2 separate regions of the Homo sapiens genome follow, and region 2 is linked to region 1. The links are contacts of gene promoters, found by promoter capture Hi-C in human tissues and cell types (Jung and others, 2019). All regions are on one chromosome and are shown on one strand. Each heading gives the region's core, a stretch centred on a gene start or on the middle of the fragment in contact. The rest is flanking DNA. Distances are from core to core; before and after follow the strand shown. Region 1 holds the start of TUBB2A (tubulin beta 2A class IIa). Region 2 overlaps SLC22A23 (solute carrier family 22 member 23).

Evidence for each region. Contacts are between HindIII fragments. The study calls those that stand out against the background at their distance.
Region 2: a contact is called between a fragment that was not itself captured here and the fragment with the promoter of TUBB2A in region 1, in 3 of the 25 tissues and cell types used here (dorsolateral prefrontal cortex, hippocampus and pancreas).

What each region holds. Positions count from the first base shown.
Region 1 is chr6:3,156,100-3,162,689 of GRCh38, forward strand. TUBB2A (tubulin beta 2A class IIa) reads right to left here and starts at 1,445. Exons shown (of 4, transcript NM_001069.3): 1 at 1,308-1,445; 2 at 1-53. The coding sequence starts at 1,364. LOC105374889 (a long non-coding RNA gene) reads left to right here and starts at 1,602. Exons shown (of 2, transcript XR_926395.3): 1 at 1,602-1,654; 2 at 2,333-3,337. RefSeq lists silencers at 1,327-1,786, 6,558-6,590, cis regulatory regions at 4,049-4,643, 6,415-6,590 and an enhancer at 6,473-6,590. The HindIII fragment of the contact is 12,624 bases long and covers 1-6,590 here.
Region 2 is chr6:3,273,830-3,280,683 of GRCh38, forward strand. All of the region lies in intron 9 of SLC22A23 (solute carrier family 22 member 23), which reads right to left. Among named protein-coding and RNA genes, the nearest start is that of PSMG4, 18 kb to the left of the region's middle. RefSeq lists an enhancer at 5,792-5,851. The HindIII fragment of the contact is 4,641 bases long and covers 216-4,856 here.

The sequences.
Region 1 (6,590 bases), core at 195-2,694:
TGGTAACTGCCTGTGGGGTCGATCCCATGCTCATCGCTGATGACCTCCCAAAACTGAAATGAAAAAAGAACCACACCATGGCTCTGCATCCTGAATGTCACTAAGGATGGCCTTGTCCTCCTCCCATGTCCTTGGAACAGGGGCTTTTGTGGTCAGACAGTTAGTAAGTGCTAGACAGAGAGCAAAGAGCTGCACCCCCTATTTCCTGCAGCAGCCGCTGCTGAGGGGCTTGAAAATCCGCAGAGCATCGGCCATATTATGGGGATAGACTGAAAGGCTGGGAGGGGCCCTGGAGGAGGAGGGGACACAGCAGATGCCCTTCTAGGGAGAGGGTGGGGAGAGTAGAGAAGTGGAGAAGGGGTACAGGGAGGCTGTGTCACCCCAGGCAGGGCTGAATGCCATTGCATCCGGGATGATTGATGGGTCGTGGCAGGCCAAGGACAGGGGGACCCACTCTGTGGCTGCCTCCAGGGATCAAGCTCTCTTGGCACAGATCCCAGGCACTCCTGCAACAGTGCAGGTTTAAGCCACCGATCTACATGCTGGCACTGACCACCGGAGGGACTGGGCGAAGGGCAGCAGGAGCCTGGGAGGGCACCTGGGCGGCAGTGGAAGGAGCTGGCCATCGTGAGGGCGCTGGCTGCATTGTGAATTTGCGGCGGGGAGGCTGGGTGGGCAACATGGCGGTTCTCAAAGAGACCACGTCCTTGTACTGGCGCCCGCCCCCACCCATGCACCAGACCCGCTGCTGCCTCCCACACAGCGGTCGGTAATTGCAGCCCCCACCCAGCGCAGTCACCTGCCGCCTCGGGGACTGGCAGCAAGACTATCGCGTTGTATGTCATCATGTCAAGACAGTGCCCGAGCAAGGGAATTTATCTAACACCCTTGCCTGTACGACCCAAAGGGACGCCTCTGTTACATCTGCCAGTCCAGTGACACTGCATGTTTTCATTCAAACCGTAGAGAAAAATATACAAATTAAATTCACATGAAGCTAGCGCAATAAATATGACCGTACCCCCGACCCAAGTTTCTGAGACAAATACACCCAGGGGAATGCCAACCGCGTCCCGCAGAAGGGCTGTGTCCCAGGGAAATCGAAAGGCCCCCGATTAAACGCACACACAGCTGCGGCGCTGCGGGCATCCTGGCGGGTCATGCAGCCTCCCGGACCCCGCCCGGCGGCCTCGCCGCGGAATGTGCCACCCGGCCAGCCCGGGGCCGCCGCGGCCTCCAGCCCCCGCCCCGGCCCCAGCCCGCACCCTCGGTCCCAACCCCGGGCCCCTCCGTGGCGGTGAGCCCACCTTGGCGCCGATCTGGTTGCCGCACTGGCCCGCCTGGATGTGCACGATCTCGCGCATGGTGCCGGCTGCGGAGCGGGTGGCGCTGGCCCTCGGAGCGGTGCGCGGCGTGGACCGGCGGGCTGGGCTGCGCAGAGACCTGCCGCCGCCCCCCCAGCTCGGTCTTTTATACCCGGGGACCCGCCCTGCCCGGTGACGTCATGACGGGCGGGGCTGTGGCCGCGGGGGCGGTGCGGCTGGGACTGCGGCACCGCGAGGGGGAGCCGGGGCGCGGTGCGAGGTGTGGGGGCGCTCGCCCTATTGCTGCTGCCGCTGGGTCTAGGGTGGGCGGCCGGCCTCGCGGTCCGGCGGTGAGTGCGGTGCCCGGGCCTCGGGCCCAGCCGCAGCCCCCTGCCCGATCCACGGGCACGGGCGACCCCTGGCGCTGGGTCCTCCGCTCACGCCGCGATCCCCACCCCGAGCCGCCCACTCTGGACCCCCGAGGGGGGCTGGGGACCGGGGGCCCCGGAACCAGGGGGAGGGGCTGCCTCGGAACAGGGTCCTCGCCTCCTAAGGACGGGAAGAGGCGTCGAGTACCCTTTGGAGTAGGGGGCCGGAAATTGAAGACCCATTTGCAGTGGGCTCTCCAGCGGGTGGCAAAGGTTTCCCGCATCCTGGGCAGGGTCCTGGACGCCGTTTGTGGGGGTGGGGTGGGCAGCGTGGAGAGGAGTGGGGGGCCGCGGGGAGCCGACGGGCAGCTGCCTGAAAGGAATGCCAGGATGGCGGGGTGGGCGGCCTTTCGCCCCTGCAGGGGAGGAAGATGGCTTGGTCGGGGGCGGGGGTTGGGGGGGCTATCAAAGGGCTGGATTTGTCACATGTCCGCTTTGGGCTCCTGCGTCCTTGTAAAGGCCTTTTAAATGTGGAAAATTCTGCGGGTGTGTGTGTGTGTGTGTGTGTGTGTGTGTGTGTGTGTCAGAGAGGAAAGACAGGAGGAATATATCTGCCACGTTGATGTGTCAGCTGATGGCCCTGCCCCTTACACCCCTTAGGTCGCCTGATCCTCACAGAAGCTGTCGGAGCTAGGCTGGCCAGTTCGGTAGACCCTAGGCACGGTGGCTGCCGAGCATTGAAACGTAGGTAATCTGAACTGAGATGGGCTGTTAAGTGTGAAGAACACACTGGCTTTTATGGGCTCAGTAAGTTAAAATAATGTGAAATATTTCATTACTGATTCTTAAATATTGATGGTCTATCAAAATAATAGTGTTTTGGATACATTGTGTTAAATGACTTGTTTTGAAATTAGAAAATGTAAAATTACATACTTGGTTTCCATTTGCTGCTCACTTACGCATATTTTTGTTGACTACCACCGGCTTCTGGTAAGCATTATTACTACCCCAATTTCATAGCTCCGAAAGCGAGGTTGAAAGACCTGACCAGCCACAAAGCTAGGAAGGGAAGGAATCTAAAGCCTTTGTATAAATAAAAAGCCCAGGTGAGTTTTAAAGGCTTGGGTGGGCTGTGGTAAGGACCTGACTTAATTATTCACAAAGATGGCCCTGCACGGTGGACTAGGTAACAGGGGCTTGGGGACTGCCTTTGGTTCCCAGCACATTCCAACTATATAATGATGATAATTACAGGTGCCTTGGAGCTGGCTTTGTGGTAGGAGATGAGAAGCCATATATGAAAGCACATTGAGTTTATGGAGTAAAAATGCCTTGGTAAAACCCAAGGTGATGGGCTGGGCGCGGTGGCTCACGCCTGTAATCCCAGCACTTTGGGAGGCTTAGGCGGGTGGATCACGAGGTCAGGAGATCGAGACCATCCTGGCTAACACGGTGAAACCCCGTCTCTACTAAAAATACAAAAAAATTAGCCGAGCCTGGTGGCAGGCATCTATAGTCCCAGCTACTCGGGAGGCTGAGGCAGGAGAATGGCGTGAACCCGGGAGGCGGAGCTTGCAGTGAGCCGAGATGGCGCCACTGCACTCCAGCCCAGGCGACAGAGCCAGACTGCGTCTCAATAAAAAACAACAACAAAAAACCCAAGATGATGCTGTCATTCCTAATGTGCACCCTACCTGCCACCTCAATAGTTGGTCTGTATCGGAGGTGGAAACTAAAGCCAGATGTCTGTGAGTAGCCTCTTAGGCCAAGTTAGGTCTTAATCACCCCAGCTTTAGGAAGCGCCCAGCATCCTCCCAGATGTAGGTAGGCAGGTGCCTAGTGCCTCTTCTCAGGGTGGGGACAGATTTCCTAGAATTTCTCCTCCTCTCTCCCCTCTCCCTGCTGCTGGGCCCCCAGTGGACAACCTGTCCCTCGGATGCTACTCCCAGGTACCCAGGGCTTGACCTCCACCTTCTCCCCACCCCCACCCCAACTCTCACATCTTGGCTCTTCACCACAGCCGGAGCCTTCCAGATCCTCTCCAGAGAATGGCTCTCCTTGGGGTACCTTCACTCATTACACAGTTCTGAAAAGATTTTTCCAGAGATAATTGCTTCTTGGCCTTTGTGTTTTAATTCAGCGTGAAATCTGAGGCCAAATAGGAGCAGAGGATGAGACCTGAAAGGGACAGCACTAGGGACACGGGGACCCCTAGCAGCTGGGCGTTTCCCGGCCTGTGGAGCATGTGCCCACTCTGCTGTTCCTAGCTCAGTCCTCCAGCAAGTCACTGCACCTCTCTGAGCTTCTCTGGAAATGGGTTTTTCTTACGTTGGGGAGCTGGGAGGCACTGTGCGTGAACTGGACATTAGTGAGCGCACAGAAAATAAATCCATGGCAGTGTTCACGGGCGCAGGCCAGGTACCTGATTGTCTGCTCTGGATCGCTGGCAGTGAATGTTCTGCCCAAGTCGGCCTTCTCCTGCCTGGCAGTTCACGCCCAGCCTACTTCTCTCTGACGCGCTCCTCCCTCGGTGCCGCCCGTGATGTGTGTTAGTATATAATCAGAGAAACTCACACGCGGAGTTTTAAATAATGCCTGCCCTGCCTAAGGTGACTCATCTGAGGCCGTGAGTTCCTGCTCTCCCCTCCCTCGCGGCAAGTGTAGATATCCCCAACCCCACCTCGCTGTCACTAAGCAACTCGACCTTGTACAGCACCGATGCAGATAATAACAGGAGGAAATAGAGCCTGCTAATTGTCCCCTTCCCTAGAATAGGTTTTTAAGGAGCAATCTCTCCCCTTTCATGTATTTTTCAGTGTCTAAAGAGGAGCAGCTCCACCGGCTGTTGGGTGGGCCGGGGATGGGGAAGGGGAAGAGGACCAACCTCCTCCAGCCTCAAGTCACTTCCTGCTTTAGACAGGATGCCACTCGCAGTGTCTGAGCCACCCCTACCCTGAAGGCATCATTGGCGGGGTGAGGGGCGGGGGGCGGGGAAGGGCAGGTGTAATGACAAAATTCAGACTAGAGAATGTGTTCCAGGTAGGAGGCTGAGCCACATCTGTCTTTCACAAAAGGACATAAGCTCTTACCCTTTTGCCTGCCCTTCCCGCCTGCTGCTTCAGAGGGCCCAACGAGAAGGGTCCTGGTGAGAATGTTCTAGTGAAACGTACCCTGTGAATATGTGGTGTTATGATGATATCGTTACTGTTCACTGATGCCATCTCTAAGGGTGACAGTCGTGATCTAGTTGAAATAGATTTAGTTGGTCCAAGTAAGAGAGTCCTGGAACTTCAAAAACACTAGTTTCCTCTGCAGAATGATGAAAACCCAAGGACCATCCCAGCAATACAATTGTCTAAATTTGTATGGTACAGTCTTGCATCCTGTTTGTGCCCTCAGAGAACTAGCCACACTCTCCGCTCCAACTTCTCTTTCCCATGAAACTCATCCAGTGCAGCCCCTGTCTGCTATTTTTTAAATAAAAGCATCTCTTTATGAAGATGGAAGAATTTTGTTCAAAGCATTTAAGGGGATGTAACCTTTTCAAAAGGTTACCTAAAATAAAAGTCTGAACTCCAATTAAATTTAATTTTAAAATATCAACCCCACCAAAGTTTACAATTTTTTTTTTTTTTTGCATCAGATGACTATAATAATACAGAGTAAATATATAGAAGATTTTTAGCCACTTTCTGGAATGGGCCATGCCCCAGAATGTGACATTCATATTACAAGTGTCGATCTGGGGCCTTTCAAAACTGAAGATGTCATTTTTTGTTTTTTTTTGAAATGGAGTCTCGACTAGGCTGGAGTGCAGTGGCATGATCTTCGCTCATTGCAACCTCTGCCTCCCAGGCTCAAGCGATCCTCTCGCTTTAGCCTGCCGAGTACCTGGGATTACAGGCGTGCACCACCATGCCTGATTAATTTTTGTATTTTTAGTAGAGGCAGCGTTTCACCATGTTGGCCAGGCTGGTCTCAAAGATGTTATTCTTGATGTCAAATTCTCATTAAGCTATAACCCCCCAAGTTTTTTTTAAATACATACAATGTACACAGCAATTATATATACATATATCTTATATACATATTTCCTGATTATAAAATTAGAAACACTTAGAAAGTACTAAAGAGCACAAGTGTATCCCCTGTTCTCGAGATTTTTTTAAATGCTTGATGTATTATATTCCTTTGTGTTTTTCCTATTCATGGGCTGTTTAGGTGTTTTTGTTCCTTTATAACTTTTTTTTTTTTGCCTTCAACATTAAGAGTGAAGAAATACTATATCTTCTTCTGCTATGACTTAGACATAATCTCACAAATTCTCAAAAATATGTAACCTACTCCCAACTGTCATTCTCCCCATAATCTGAGGTGTCCAGAGCATACCGAATTATCTACAGAGCAAACTCATCTCTGCTTCCCATGACTAAGGCCGTTTAGAGGACTCAGTGCCCTCCTGCCGCGTTCCCTGACTGTTGAAAAGCACAGGGCCTAGAGTTGATGGACTGGGTGCAAATCCTCACTGTCACTTCTTAGCTGTGTGACCTCGGCAAGTTACTTAACCTCTCTCTGCCTTAGTTGCCTCATCTGTAAAGTGACAGTAATAATAGTACCCGCTTCCTGGGGTTGTGATAAAGACTGAATGAATATGTGAAAGCACTCACAATACCACCTGCCCCACAGTGTTATATAAATATTAGCTATTATAACGGGTTAATCCCGTCCTCCCCCCACTCCCTCCCTCCCTCCCTTTTTTTCTCCCTCCTTCCCCTCCCTCCCTGGAGCTCTTCTGGAATCAGGACTCAACTCCAGAGCCACTTGCGAGGCTCCCATGCGGCGAGACTGCGGTCTCCGCTGGCCGCACGCTCTTCTGCATACAGCTCCGCACTACACTCCTCTCCCCTAATCCCGA
Region 2 (6,854 bases), core at 1,286-3,785, 120 kb after region 1:
GGATTACCAAGGGTTAAAGAGGGTACTAAGGACATACCAACACGAACAGAGACTTTCTCTTTGTCATAACTGGAGAGACTGCAAGATACTTTAAAAGAGTAGTTTCCTCACTGTGAGTTGATGGCCCACGTGTCTCCTGAAATTGCTCACATACCACCATTGGAAACGGTCCCATCTCTGAGGATTGTGCCTGAAGGGTCCCCCAAATGAAGCTGTGCACTGACAGAGAGGAACTCACTGCAGCTCTGAGCTCAGGATAACCAAAGTCCAGAAGGCAAGCCATTGATTTCCACTCCCTGCCTTGTACGGGAGCAGCCAAGAGTCCCAGGGATTAGTAGATACGCAAAACTTACAGAACCCCTATCCCTCAAACCTCTCCACTTTGACCTAAAAACACATTACTGGGACAAAGGTGTTCTGTGGCCCCTGAGAAAGCAGTGCTGTACCAGGCTGCAGTGGGACCGTGGCGCTCAGGTGTCAGGCCAGGCTAGAGAGGGCTGCCTGGTCCCCAGTTCTGGGGCCTCATTGAAGGAGGTAGGCAGAGGTGGCCTTGTCTCAAGGAAGAGGGAGTGGAGTTGTGTGCCTCGCTCCACAGCAGCAGGTAGACTGGTCCTTTGGTTTGGGGAAGCTTTCTAATGGGCTGCTCGTTAGGCACCCCCTTGAAGTGAAGAGGGCTGTATCCTTTGAACTGCTGAGGCTGAGTGGGCTGAAAGGGAGGTCCCTGCAACAGGTAGGAGGCAGGTAGATAACTCCAGCTCTTGACTAGTCTGTGGTTCTCTTGGTTGGCACTATAGGTAGCTCCTAACTCACCAAAAGACTGTCCTACAAGGTCACAAGATAAAAGATCAACATACAAAAGTCAATTATATGTCTACGTGCTAGCAACACCCAAAAATGAAAATGCCATTCACAATAACATCCAATGAATAAAATGTTTAGAAATAAATAACAAAGGAATGCAAGACTTGTATGCTGAAAAAGATAAAACATTGCTGAAAATTAAAAGATAAAAATAAATGGAGTGACATTCCATGTTCATGAATTAGAAGACTAAATATTATAAAGATGGTAATTTTTCCCAAATTGATCTATACATTCCACATAATCCCTATCAAAATTCCAGGTGACTTTTTTTTTTTTTCAGAAAACAGCCAATTCTAAAATTTATATGGAAATGCAAAAGACTCAGAGTAGTCAAAAACAATTTTGGAAAAGAACAAAGAAGGCTTGCCTTCCCAGTTTCAAAACTATAAAGCCATACGGCTTAAGGCAGTGTGGTGTTGGTGTATATATCAATAGATCAATGGAACAGAACTGGGAGTTCAGAAACTAACCTTCACATTTATGGTCAACTGACTGTAGATGGAGGCAAATCCAGTGAGGGGGAAGGGATAGTTTTTTCAACAGGTGGTGCTGGGACAACAGGATATTCATGTGCAAAAGAATGATGTTGGACCCTTCACATCATGTAAAAAAATGAACTCAAAATGGATAATAAAATCTAAGTGCTTAACTTAGCTCAAACTATAACGCTTCTAGAAGAAAACAAGAGAAAAGCTTTATGACGTTGGGTTAGGCAAAGATTTCTTACACATAACATCAAAAGTAGGATCCATAAAAGAAAAAGCTGATCAATTGGACTTCATTAGGATTAAAAACTCCTACCCTTCAAAAGATACATGTTTAAGAAAAAAAGACCATAGACTGGGAGAAAATATTCGTGAAGCATATATCAGATAAAGGACTTGTAACTAGAATATATAAAGAACTTTTTTTTGAGAGTCTCACTGTCGCACAGGCTGGAGTGTAGTGGCATGATCTCGGCTCACTGCAAGCTCTGCCTCCCAGGTTCATGTCATTCTCCTGCCTCAGCCTCCTGAGTAGCTGGGACTATAGGCGCGTGCCACCATGCCCAGCTAATTTTTTGTATTTTTAGTAGAGTCGGGGTTTCGCTGTGTTAGCCAGGGTGGTCTTGATCTCCTAACCTCGTGATCCACCCGCCTTGGCCTCCCAAAGTGTTGGGATTACAGGCGTGAGCCACCACGCCACTCTTATAACTCAAAAAGAAGACAGATAATCCAGTAAAAAGATGGGCAGGCCAGACACAGTGGCTCATGCCCAAAGAGGCTTGGGCAAAGGTGACCTGGGCAGGGAGGATGGGAGTCCCAGGGTTCCCAGGTGGCCCTCATAAACCAGATATACACAGGTCTATGCTAATAACCCCAGGAAGATTCACAGATTTGGAGCCTTTTTCTCAGAATGCAATGGAAGAATGGTGATTGTGTGTGTGTGTGTGTGTTGGGGGCTTTTGTCCTGTAACAAAATAAGAGAAGACACTTTGCTCTGCCTTTTCTCCCTCTAATGTAGAAATGACTGCCTCTCTGTTGGTTGCAGTCCACCCATCTGCATCCACCATGGGCACAGGGCTTGGGGGCACAAGGGCAGCCTTGCCAGGCTTGCAGCCCTAGGGGACAAAGACTCGCTGGATTCTTCCCTTTCCCAGCTCCTTCCTGTCCAGCCCATGACCAAGTCCTCAGGGCCTCCACTCCAGGCCGCCTGGGTCTGCGCTCCTCCCTGGCGCATCTTCTGCACCCCCTAGACTTTGTTTCCTCACCATTGCCAAACCGATTTTCCTAGAACACAGAGCTAATCATATCACCTGGCTGCTCAGAGTCCTCCAATGGCTCCCTCCTGCCTGCAAGGTGATGCACAGGTCCTGGGGGCCCCACCTCTTCCTCCTGTCCTCTGCCTTTCAGTCCCAATACTCATGGCACCGGGGTCCCTCAGCTCTGTCTGGTGCTCGCTCTGTGAGGTTGGCCTATGCTGGCTCAGCCGAGCTCCCACAGGCTACCTGGGTAGGGCGCCGTCTGTGCATTTCTCGAGGAAGGAGATGCCTTCTGGTACAGGGTCTTCGTTAATGTTTATTCCATTAGATGATTGTCAAGACTGGGGCATCAGCCATTAGCCTCCAAGCCTTGAGTAAACCCACATAAAAAGAGCCAGCCCAAAGTGAGCTACAGAACAGACTTTTGCTGCCACAAAGGTGCGAGTGCCGTGGCTGGGAGCAGGAGTTCTGGAGCCCATGAGCCTGGGCTAGAATCCTGGCCCCCGCCCACCAGCTTCACTTCCCGAAGCCTCGGTCTGCATCTATAAAACAGGGATGAGAAAAGCTCCAATGTCCAAGTGCAGTGGAGGTTAAAGCACGAATGTGACTAGCATGGGGACAGGAAGATCCGTGGCTTGATTGGTTCCAGGTGGCATCCATTGAGTGCCGGGAAGGGGCCACCCAAGTCTTTCAGGGTCTAGGGGGCAGCTGGGTGTAGGAGGAACCAGAGCTGGAGAGGTTCAAGAACTGGGAGGCGAACAGGATGAGCCTCTCCCATGGGCCTAAAGCCTCCAGGCATGACATGGAGTCCTAAAAGTTGGCAGAGGGGGCTGTGCCACTGGGACCCTTCTCCTCCACCCTGGCCTTCCTCTCGGTGAGGCACCAAGCTCTGCAAACACTGCCTCCTCAAGCTGCTTCACACCCGCCCACCCTCACCCTTCCAGGAACCTCTGCTCCTGCTCCCCGAGCCCTAGGAATCCAGCCTCACCTCCTCCCGCCGCAGTGCACTTGCCAAACACGCATCGCCTCTAGAGCCACTATGTGCGGGCTCCAGGCCACATCCTGGGAATCCCGTCCCAGCCACCCTTCTGAGTCCAGACTGAGCAGGCTCTCTTGGGCACTTCCCCTGCATCCTCAGGACACTTGTGTAGCCCGAAGACACATTCGCATTGCGTGTCTGTGTGTCTCTAATAGACACCAGATGTTTCCAGGGCAGGACCAGGCTCCACTCCGTGTGCTGTCCCCAGCACCTGCCCAGCCACTGAGACCTGGCTGGCACCTGGGCATCTACTCAGTGCTATAGTCGGATTTCTAGACTGGCCCCAGTAATTCCCACCCTTGTGCCTTGAGTGTGCGCTGGCCCTCAAGGTACAAGGTACAAATAACGTACTTTTTAGCAATCAAATTTACGGCCAGGATAGTGAGATGTTCCTTCCACAACAAGGTTCCAAAAGGCAGATTCTAGCAGACTCTTGCTAGCTTTGACGAAGCGAGCTGCCTTGTGACTGTGGTCCCTATGGCCAACGGCCAGCAAGGAGCTGAGGCTGCCAGCCCCACAGCCCGTGAGGAAACAGCCTACCAGTGCCTGACTTGGTTTAGTGGTGGGCCCTACCCACTGATGGTAGCCTCTGAGAGACCTGGAGCAGAGGACCCAGCCAGGCCGTGCCCAGACTCTGGAGCCATGGAAACCATAAGATAGTAGATGCATGCTACTTCAGGCCCCTGTTTTGGAGCGATTGGTTATGCAGCAATAGAAAACCAAGATACTCGGTGAGTGACAGATTCCCCTGCCTTAGCCACGGAGGGAGACTGACAGCCACCTCTCATGCAGGCTGTGACAGGCATCAGCACTTCATATTAGAAAGCCCTTCCCAGGGAGAGGCTGAAAGAGTTGCAGGAATAGCCACACCACTGTGCTTCTGGGCCTGAAGACGATATGGATGAGGAAGAGCAAGAATTTGGGGGATGTCTCCCAGATACTCAAACTCCTCCCAGGCTGAGGGTCCCAGACCACCGTTCAAAGACACTCTGCATCTTTCTGTCACTATTTGTTCATGTGCCTGTCACCTTACTAGTCTCTGAGCCCTTCAAGGGCAAGAATTATTTTCTAGGACATCAACAGGCACGTGCTGTTTGTGCTTAATAAATACCGGATGCTTGCGGATCACACGGGCTTCCTGGATAGGAAGGTCAGCTCACCCAGGTGAATGGGACAGGTTAAATAGAGACAACCACGGAAATGAGCAATAAGACCAAATCCTTCTGTAAGATGAAGACTGAACACCTAAAATAGCCAATTAAGTCTTTCTGGTAGACCTGGCTCTTTCAGGAAGCCACAGGGCATATCAGATGCTAGGGATAATGGACATGATTTTAATGGGGACAGCATTTTCTCGGAAACCTCCCAGGTTTCTGCCTGACCTTCCCGGCACTAAATGTGGACGGCACTGACAAGCAGTGAGAGGACTCCCCTTACTCACACGGGAGTCACATACAGGAGGGCAGAGTACAGACCCCCAGGAGGGGTGGGCAGAGGGCCACTGTTAAAGGGCAAACTGCATGGAACAAAAGCCTTGCATTGTGCCTGGTGAACCACATCATACTGATCTATCTTGTTAACTGTGCCAAATAAAATGAAATATATTTAATTTGCAGATCATTAGAAAAATGTCTATGTATATGTATATACATAATATGCAACAAATGTACACATGCATATATAATATGGAATATATCTTTTTATTTTTTTCTGTGGGAGCAATTCTCTGGTTTTCTATCAAAGATTCCTTGATATGGCCGGGCATGGTGGCTCATGTGCCTGTAATCCCAGCAATTTGGGAGGCCGAGATGGGCAGATCACGAGGTCAGGAGATCGAGACCACTGTGGCCAACATGGTGAAACCCCGTCTCTACTAAAAATACAAAAATTAGTTGGGTGTGGTGGCGCGTGCACGTAATCCCAGCTGCTTGGGAGGCTGAGGCAGGAGAATCACTTGAACCAGGGAGTTGGAGGTTGCAGTGAGCCGAGATCACGCGACTGCACTCCAGCCTGGCAACAGAGCAAGGCTCCGTCTCAAAAAAAAAAAAAAAAAAAAAAAAAAATCCTTGACATCATTCAGTACGATTAGGAAAAATTTTGGCAGAAGTTGGTATGCCATTTTTGGCTTTGTTTTTTTTTCTCTCTTGAAATCTCAGAGAAAGAGATTGTTACATCCTTGGTTTTAAGGTGTTGGGTTCCTTTCCTGCCCCTGAAATGTGGGCTCTGCCAGTGCCTTTTCTGCTTTTCTCTGGGTTGTCACTAGAGGGCAGCATACGCCCGTGTTTAGAAGTCAGAGCTGCTTGATTTACGGACAGAGAACCGAGGGCGCACACTGCCTCCTTGGGCTTTAGGAGCACAAAATTGTAATACCCACGGGATATCTTTATTTTACTAGCAATAGGATCTCAATAAGGTAGGAAAACTGATATGCAGGCCGACTTCTTACTAGAAATGGCAAACTTCATTGAATTAAGGATTCCAGAATCAAATTGCTGTTAGCCATGTGAACGTTACCATCTCACATTGAAACACCCGAGGCGAGGCTCCTGTTCTAGCTCCTCTTTTATATTACTTAATGTGACTTGACTAAATTTCTGTGAAGTTGAGGATAAGCAAATATTTGTACCATTTTTTATAGAAATAAATACAACTGCTGAAGATGCCCAGCGAAGAAGAAGAATATGAACTGTCCTGTGCTGAGCCCAGGCCCTTTGCACATGGCCTCCATTCTCCACCCCCGCCTAACAAGGTGCCTGTAGTCAGTTTTGTTTTAAGACAAGGACACTAAAGCCGGCCGAGGGACCCACCCAAGGCCACACAGGGAGGCGGCCTCAGGATCATGGGCAGCTCCGTCTGGTTCCTTCCCAGGCTCCGGGCCATATCATCAGCACCCTCCCCTCATCCTGCCCCGCTGCTCATCGCTCGCACGCCACAGGCGCTGCCGGCATGGGACGCATGCTGGCTTCCTGTCTGCTACTCAGTACTTGTTTTCAGATGTGACATTTTTAAGACACAACTTTTTTTTTTTTTTTTTTTTTTTGAGATGGAGTCTCGCTCTGTCGCCCAGGCTGGAGTGCAGTGGCGCGATCTCGGCTCACTGTAAGCTCCGCCTCCTGGGTTCACGCCATTCTCCTGCCTCAGCCTCCTGAGTAGCTGGGACTACAGGCGCCCGCCACCACGCCCGGCTAATTTTTTTTGTATTTTTAGTAG